2 separate regions of the Homo sapiens genome follow, and region 2 is linked to region 1. The links are contacts of gene promoters, found by promoter capture Hi-C in human tissues and cell types (Jung and others, 2019). All regions are on one chromosome and are shown on one strand. The core of a region is centred on a gene start or on the middle of the fragment in contact, and the rest is flanking DNA. Distances in the headings are between cores, read along the strand shown.

Region 1 (4,253 bases), core at 1,265-3,764:
CGAGTCGACGTTTCCTCCGATGTGGCCAAGGCGAGGGACCCAGAAAAAGGAACTGCTCTGAATTTTGCTTTTTCCCAACTGGTACAAGGCAGCAGGAGTCCTCTGTAGGGCACCCGCGGAGAAAGTAAGAAAAGCCTGCACGTGGAAGGTCTGAACAGGGAGGACCTAAAGGTTGTACAGGGTTCCAAACCCACCCAACCTCCAAATGTTTCCCTATAGGGCTACTAGGAACCAGGGATCCACTCTCAGCCAAAGGCACCTCTGGGAGAGGAGCATGCACCTCCTCAGGGAGAGAAGGGTTAAGTGAGGTGCTTACTGGCCTTGGCAGTCACTGTGCCCCCACCAGGAAATAGGGGGCTTGATGGATAAAAGGGAGGGGAGGCTGCCTCTTCGAAACAGCCGACTAAGCCCCCTCCCGCAAACGGTCTTGCACTCCAGATTGCTGGGGTGCAAAGGAGAAAAGAGCCTCCCCCTCCTGCATTCGCCAGAGCATCTGGAGCCACAAGAAGAATCTACCTGGGAGCTGCAAGGTGGGCAGATCCACCTCTGTCTGGGCTCCCAGGTCTAAGAGCTGGGTCTCCCCTCACCCGAGGCCCACACCTCCTAGCTCTGCGTTTCCCTGCACGCCCTCCAGCTCTGCGCTCCCCAGCCTCCCGGGCGCAGCACAGGGCTCCCCCCACTCCCTCGCTCCGCCCAGGTGCGATTTGTGGAGGGGCGGGGGAAAGTGGCTCCCACCGCAGCCTCCGCTCCTGCGCTCTCCTCCAACCACTTTGGACCCCTGTTTACTCGCCGCGCGCTGGGGACTCCCCTCTACCCCGCACACACGTCTCCCCCTGGGAGGCAGGAGTCCCCTTCCTACACTGCGGCTGTGGAAACATCCTTGACTCCTGAGTGCCTGGCAGGGAAGGTGGGCGTGGGTCTACCGACCTGGCTGCAGAGGTGAAGGAGCGTAGAAGCAAGCGGGTGCCAGAGAAGAGAGCAGACTATGGTCCTCTTAGAGCTTGGAGAAGCATCCCTAGTCCACGATCTGACCATTCAGTCACCACCCAAGATGCCAACGCATTCAGATTCTCGCGGGGAGGTTTGTTTGCTTCTGGGGAGGAAGATCGCCCCATCCCAGGCACTCAGCAGCCTGCCTTCCCAAGTACCCAAGGGCCCGGCATTCCGGGGCTCCATTCCTTGTCTCCACGCGCCCCCAGGTACCCAGCCCCTCCCCCATCTGTATTTACATACCCAGGCCAGCGCCCTCCGGACTCAAATCCCTTTTCCTCTTCGTCAGATGGCCTCTCAGGGCTGGCCGCTCGCCCACATTAGCAGTACCTTTTCATTTCCCTCAACCGTGGGCAGATCTACCCGACCCTCAGCTTCCTCCTCCACCGCACGAGCAGCCTTTCCCTCCCTGAGCCACTTACTTCACCCACCCATATCTGCACTTGCAGTTCCCACGGCGCACAGCCGCAAGCCACTCCAAAGGTTTCATTGCCGAGTTGGGGGTGGCGTGTGCAAGGATGGACTGACTCCCATCGCGCTGGACGAAGCTTCAGGGGTGGCCGCAGCCATCCTCCATGTCCCACCTCTCTTATTTCACCTTCTCTGTCCCTACCCAGCTCCTAGAGGCAGGACGAGCACTGCTGGGTCCCAAACCCTCGCCTCAGGAGCCAGAGCTGCGGGGAGTGAAAAGTCGACTGGCAAGAACACACAGAGAGAAATGGGCAGATGCATATGGCAAGAGGGGCTGGGGGAAGGGCAAGAACTAAACCTGCAAGTTGCACAGCACGGGGTGAGCACCGCGCAGGGAAGGGGTCACAAAAGTTTGCAGACTATTGTATAGCAGCCGGCTGAACAGGAGCGAAGAGGGTCGACTCTCTCTCTCCAGGAGGAGGTCTCTCCCAGGGTCTGCGCAAAAGGGATCAGGGAGGCTTAGACAGGCACGGCTTAGAACTGGTGTAATAGTTCTCCTCTACTTGTTCCTTGGAGGGACGGCCTAGGTACCCGGGCAGAGGGATGATCCCGCGCTCTGCGAAAAGCAACAGGCGGCTGCACCTTACCTTGCGCCAGTCCCGGGCCGGGGTGGCTGCTCCATCCTCGTGGCTCAGGGAGGAGGCGTTGGGTGCGTATGCTTAGGGGTGTGCCCGCTGCCAGGGCTGCAGCGGCCGCCACCTCCAACCAGCTGCAAGCCGAGCTGCCCACCTGGGACCGGGCCGGCCCGGCGGGCTTGGCTCCCGGCGAAGGCGGCGGCGTTGGTGCGCGGCGGCTGGGGCGCGGGACGCAGGCAGTGCGTGGCGCGGCTGGCGTCTTCGGGCGCCGCCACCGAGCGAGGGTGCGGCCCCGGGCGGCCGTGCGGGGCACGACTTGGCTCGCGTTGCTGCGGCGGCCGCTGCAGACCCTGCTCCAGGCGCCGTAGCCTTGCAGGAAGAGCAGACAAAGACAGGAGAGAGGCAAAGCGCCGCTTGCCCAGAGATGCAGTCGGCTCAGTCAATAGAGGGAAATCGCCTCCAAACCCAGGCTGGGAATGAGGGAGGAGGGGCGAGGCGGCTGGGGACTAGAAAAAGCAGCAGGGAATTAACGTGACAGTCAGAGCCCAGCCAGTGCCTCGCCGGCGCTGCTCTCTCGCCTCGCGGTTGCGGGGTCCGGAATGGAGAGAGGAGGCGGGGGCTGAGCGTTGGCTGCCGGAGACCAGCTGAGGTAGGAGTATTAACTCCCTCTGCTGCTCTCGCCTGCCTTCCTCGCACCCCCTTACACAGCTCTACTTGCAGCAGGCTATGGCCCCATTCTTTCTCCTATTTTTCTAACTACTGAGATCAGAGCTGAATTAAGCTGGTGAAAGGAGCAAAACGTGCAAGGGATTGATTGCCCTCCTTGGGGGAAAAGCGGAGGCTTAAAATCAATTCGACAAATGAGTGTTTACTGGGTGCTGAGTACTGTGCTCCGCTATTGTGAGGGAGGGTTATGAATAAGGTACCCCCCTCCCGCCCCAGGGTCCGTTGTCTGATCTCAGAATCAGTTTCCCCTGCAGTTCTGGAAGCCCAAAGTTTCGGGGTTGAGTTGTGGTCCCTGATCCCGATCCTCAACCAATCTAGCTTTCTAAATCAGAAGAAGGTGGAATTCAATTTTCCTTTCTCCTTCCTGGGATGACTTTAACCTGCAGCCGAAATGGAGTCTATAGGCCCCTTAAAAAAGCGCGCGCACGCCAGTGTGTGTGTGTGCGAGCGCGCTCGCGTGCGCGCGTGTGTTTTAAGAGTAAGTCAAATTAATGGTTTTAGTGATGTTCTTATTTCATGATTTTAATTATTTACCATATCTGCAGTAGACACCAGTTTGGGGCAGAGGAACCCGCCTCTCCAGACTCTACAAATACCACCTTTTTTTCTAAAGCTTTTTTCCGCTACCCCAGTCCTCTGACTCGAGGCAGAAATCTTTCCCCTCTCTTTGCCCTCTCAGAATTTTATTTGCCAATCACTTGCGGAACTTATATATTTATAGATTTATCTCTTCACTCACATATGAGTATTCCCTGTGCTTTTTGTTTGTTTGTTCTCACTGCAACATCCAGCAGTGTTTTGTATCTAATGGGTACTCAAGGAAAGCTTATCCAGTTGAAGGTCATTTTCTCCTTCTGTATGAGCTAAATCTCAGTGTCTCTAGAATTAAAGAGACTCCAGGGATGGAACTTTTGATTTAGGGTGTGGTGGAGGGAACCACACATACAGTTAGACTCACAGCCCCTTTACTGGAAAGGTAATAAAGTATTTAATTCATTTTGGTCTCTAGACAATCAACCTTCTCCCACTGACCACCCACCTCTGTTTCCTGAATTCCCAAAAGCAAAAGAAAACCAAACTGCTAAGCAACTGCCTAGAGCAAGACATGTATGTTCAGCTGCCAACACCTAGAGCAAACCCATTCCAAGTGGAGAATGACCAAAAAATCTTGATTATTTCTTGACCTGTGTCAAGTATGTTGAAAGCCTGCCAAAGTTTCCTCATTTCTATTGAAGCACTCTTATTCTGGATGCATTTTAGAACAGTTTGAACAGTGTTACATTGCTCAGAGGTGAAGAAAATTGCTTTGTAGTTTAAGGATATTTAAGATTTGTTTGTTTGTTTGTTTGTTTTCTGTCCCACCTTCTACAAATTGCACGATAGATACCTCAGATCAGGAATGCTGCATGAAAAAGTATGTCCATAATGCAGGAGATTAGACTAAATGACTCTTAAGATATCTTCTGTCTCTTAGACGTTATGATACTGTGA
Region 2 (4,253 bases), core at 1,136-3,635, 84 kb after region 1:
GTCCAATGTGCCATTGAGCGGGGCTGCCTTCCACAATCTGAGGTGAATTCTTCTCACTGGTACCTGCCATATGCCAGTGGATGTATATTGATACAAACTTCCTCCTGATGTGTCCCATTATGATGCAGCAAATCCAATCAAGACTTTTAAATTCTAAAAAATAGTCGGGTGTAGCATACTCACCTGTATTTCTCCAACATGGGGGTATTGACCACCTGGACACTTTGATTTTGTTTGATTACCCATACCTCTAGTCTGATTTTTTAAGCTTGCCTATCTATTTCTAAAATCTACATTATCCTAGGGGAGGTTAAGTAGGTAGGGGAATAGGAGAATCCAAGGTGTCAAAATAGGGTTTTAGAGAGAAGGAGAACACTCTACTAATGACTATGGGAGAGATCCAAGAGTCAGCAAAGCCAAAAATGGTGAAGAAGATACACCAACCTGCTCAAATGGGGAGAAACAAGATTTATCATATCCAGAAGAGGCGAAAATGAATTTCACAGTCGTGCAGGAATACATGGCATGTCCATCATCAAGGGCCTTGGCCTATCAATAGTATAGCAACTTTGATCCATTTAGACTAGAGAAGTATTTAGTAACATTGTTAATAATAATAATGAAGTTCCTCTGGCCATATGCAAATAAACAACATGGTATTAGAAAAAGAATGTAAGCTTTGGAATCAAACAGACTCAGGTAAGTTACTCAGGGATGTTGCTCAGAAAATAAGATTATTTCCAATGTTAGACAGTGATTGGCACTTTGTAAGCACTCCATAAGTGCTAATAGTCATTTTGCAATAGATGATAACATTCTTGAGGCCAAGGACCATCACATTTGGGTTATGTCCGCAGTATGTGGCAAAGTACCTAGCATATAGTAGGTATTTAACACATGTTGAATAAAAGGAATACTTGAGAAAAATTGGCAAAGGAAAGATAAATTCTAGTTTTATTTCAATTCACATCTCTTTTGTAATATATTTTATAGTGGATATTTCAGCCACTTCTACAATTTCCCTCTCTCAACATTTAATTTCAGCTAGCTCTGCTCTGTCTTGTAAGGTGGACACATCTAGTTAGTTATCGTCCTTGGATCATCACTGTGACATTCACATCCTGATATTATGTTTATTTTTGGGTGACATGGTGCTATTTATTCAAAACCAATCATTTATTTCATTCATTGTATTTTCAGTTAGCTTAATTATGCTTAATTAATGACCATGATTCATCAAGACATGGCCCCACCTCCAATCTACCCTGCTCCCCTTCCCCGTAGTCCATCTCCAAAATCAGTTAGTGTTTCAGTCCAGTGCTGCTCAAACCTGTGTCAGAATCACCCAAAGAGCTAAATTAGACTGCTAAATCCCTCTTCCAGAGAGTCTCATTCAGGCAATAAGAATTGTGGTCTGATAATTGGCATTTCTAATATGCTCCCAGGTGATGATCCTGCTGGTTCATGGATCACACTTCAAGTAGAACTATTCTAGCCCTATGATATTATCCAACTTTTCCCTGACATATAAGCATTTTTATGCTTCCATATCTTTGATTTTTCTATTTCCTTTCCCTAGAATATCATTCCCTGGTCTTTTCTCTTGGAAGACTTCTACTCATCTGTTGGTCCCAAATTTAGTGTTATCTTATCTCGAATGCTTTCTCTGTCCCATTCTTTATTCCTAAAGTATTAGTCCTTTCTTATTAGCTTTATCCCTAGGCCCCTGTCACCTGAACACAATTGAGCAGCTTTTCTGATTGTGCTTAGTTTGTACTTTATGCTTCTGCTTTTCCCGCTAGATTGTGAGTTCACTGAGGTCAGAGACTATGATTTTCCTGATGCTTATGTTCTTCTCACTAACAAAGTTTTGGATAGAAAGACTTTTAAAAAATATGTTTGTTCTTGATTAAATTATTGTTCCTTTTTTCCTTCCTTAGGTTAGACTGTAATTGCATTGCAACTTCATACTAAAGGTTTTGTTCAGTTTTCCAGTTATTATACCAGATGGCACCAGAAGGCTTTGGTTTAATTCTCTATGGGGATATTGGGGAATATTAGGTAACTGCTGTGGCACAACAAGGATCTCAAGGAGCATTAGCAAAGTCTAACAATTATAACTCCCTTTAAAAACCATTGTTGTCTTCAGGGACTCTCAGCAGGCCAGAATCATTAGTGACAAAACATTATCAACATACTCTCCAAATAGGAAGGATGTTGCCTATGTGGAATGGAAGGAAATTGGGCCAGTGAGACCGTTTGCCTAACCTACCTGAGCTTCATTTCAGATTGAGAACAATCAAAACTTGTAAATTAGCTTCAGATTCATGGGGAGCTTAAAAAATTCTCAGGGGTGGTAAAAGTATCTGATTTGCTACTTGTGCTTCCTTGAGCTATTCCATAAAGAAGATTTCAGCATGCTGCAATAAAGAAGAAGAATGGTTCTCTCAAAGAGTTTCATTTATTTGGTTGTGATTTCTCAGTTATGAATTAACATTTCCAGCCAAAAGCAGGGAAGGGTTATAGGGAGCTGGGGTACAATCATGCATATTAGTTAGTTTTTCATAATCATTTACTTGTTTTCACTAAAAAATGAGCCATGATATACTGCAAGTCTATGCTTCTGTGAGAACACTTGCTCAAGAATGATAATTTAACATTTACCAGCAAGAATCCATTGCAACTGAATGCTATTATATAATTATCCCCCAACTCCAAGTATTCTGCAAGCCCCTTCTCTGCCCAAGAAACACTATCCCAGGGGATTGAATAAGGAGTTTAGTTCCCTTGTCTTAGACAACTTCTAGAGTTATTGGCTAATAAATGATCAGAGTCTGTTTATTATCCAAGGGCAGCAGTCTTTGGGAGACTACTATCTCTACTCAATAGAGAGAGTAGAAATAAGAGTTCAATATGAACAAAAAGTATCTATAAAATTCAGCCCCACAATGATCTTATTTGGTTTTGGCAAGTATAATGCAAACATCAGACCCCAGATCACCAGACAAAGACAGTTTCTTTCTTCCCTTCCCCTTCCCCTCCCCCTTCTCCTTCCCTTTCCCCTTCCCCTTCCCCTTCCTTCCTTCCTTCCGTCCTTCCCTCTGTCTCTCTCTCTTAATTTCTTTTCTGCCTTTCTTTGTGACAGAGTCTGGCTCTGTCACCCAGGCTGGAGTGCAGTGGCACAATCATGGCTTATTTTAGCTCAGTCTGGGCTCAAGTGATCTTCCCACCTCAGCCTCCCAAGCAGCCAAGACTACAGGAGTGCACCACTGGCTAATTTTTGTAGAGATGGGGTTTTGCCATGTTTCCCAGGCTGGTCTCAAACTCCTGGGCTCAAGCAGTCAGCTTGCCTCAGCCTCCCAAACTGTTGGGATTAGAGATGTGAGCCACCATGCCCAGCCTAAAGAAGGTTTTGTGGTAAAAATAAAGGCAGAGTTTGGGCAAGAAAATAGCTGGAAATTGAGGCAGATCCAAAGATTGGTGTCTCCCTCTTTCATGGACCACCTGGTCTTTTTTTCAGAGCATATCTGCTTTCCTTGTTGTGCATTTGGTTCTCTCCCTTCCTATTGATTTTTTCATTTGCTCTTGCAGATCCTCTTGACTCCCTAATAACTTCTACTTTCAAATAAATTTGGCTACACCTCCTTTTCCCTTCATTTCTGCTGCTCATTGCCAAACTCATTCTGTTTTTTAATTCAAATTATTAAAATAATTACTTGAAATCTAACCTGTTCATCACATGACTTTATAACACACGTGTGGGTCAGCATATGTTTAGCTATAACCAGGAAGAAAATGGAGGGAGCACAGGGTACAAACCGTGGTTTCCATTTGGGGAAAAATTTGATAATACTTGGTCAGATAAAGTATATTTAAATTAAATGTATTAAAATTTGGAAGATAGCATAGAGAGTTCCCATCTACCACATACCCAGTCTTCCCATTAATATGGTACATTTGTCACAATCAATGAACTAATACTGGTACACTATTATTAATGGAAATCTATACTTCATGCCAATTTCTTTAGTTTTTACCTAATGAGCTTATTTTTGTTGTTCCAGTATCACACATTACATTTAGTTGTCATGTCTCCTTGGGCTCTTGTTAGCTATGATATTTTTTGATGACCTTGACAGTTTTTAGGGCATTGGTGAGGTATTTATTTTATAGACTATTGCTCAATTAGAATTTGTCTGATGTTTTTCTCATGATTAGACGAGTTATGCGTTTTGGGGAAGAAGACCACAGTA

Evidence for each region. The method cuts DNA at HindIII sites, captures the fragments that hold promoters and counts their contacts. A contact is called where the count stands out against the background at its distance.
Region 2: a contact is called between a fragment that was not itself captured here and the fragment with the promoter of LRRC3B in region 1, in 2 of the 25 tissues and cell types used here (mesendoderm cells and thymus).

The regions. Positions count from the first base shown.
Region 1 is chr3:26,621,033-26,625,285 of GRCh38, reverse strand. It overlaps LRRC3B (leucine rich repeat containing 3B), which reads right to left and starts at 2,514. Exons shown (of 2, transcript NM_052953.4): 1 at 2,049-2,514. LRRC3B-AS1 (LRRC3B antisense RNA 1) reads left to right here and starts at 2,523. Exons shown (of 4, transcript NR_183726.1): 1 at 2,523-2,685. RefSeq lists enhancers at 103-1,072, 2,665-3,180. The HindIII fragment of the contact is 7,905 bases long and covers 1-4,253 here.
Region 2 is chr3:26,537,034-26,541,286 of GRCh38, reverse strand. No RefSeq gene overlaps it. Among named protein-coding and RNA genes, the nearest start is that of LRRC3B-AS1, 84 kb to the left of the region's middle. The HindIII fragment of the contact is 3,824 bases long and covers 474-4,253 here.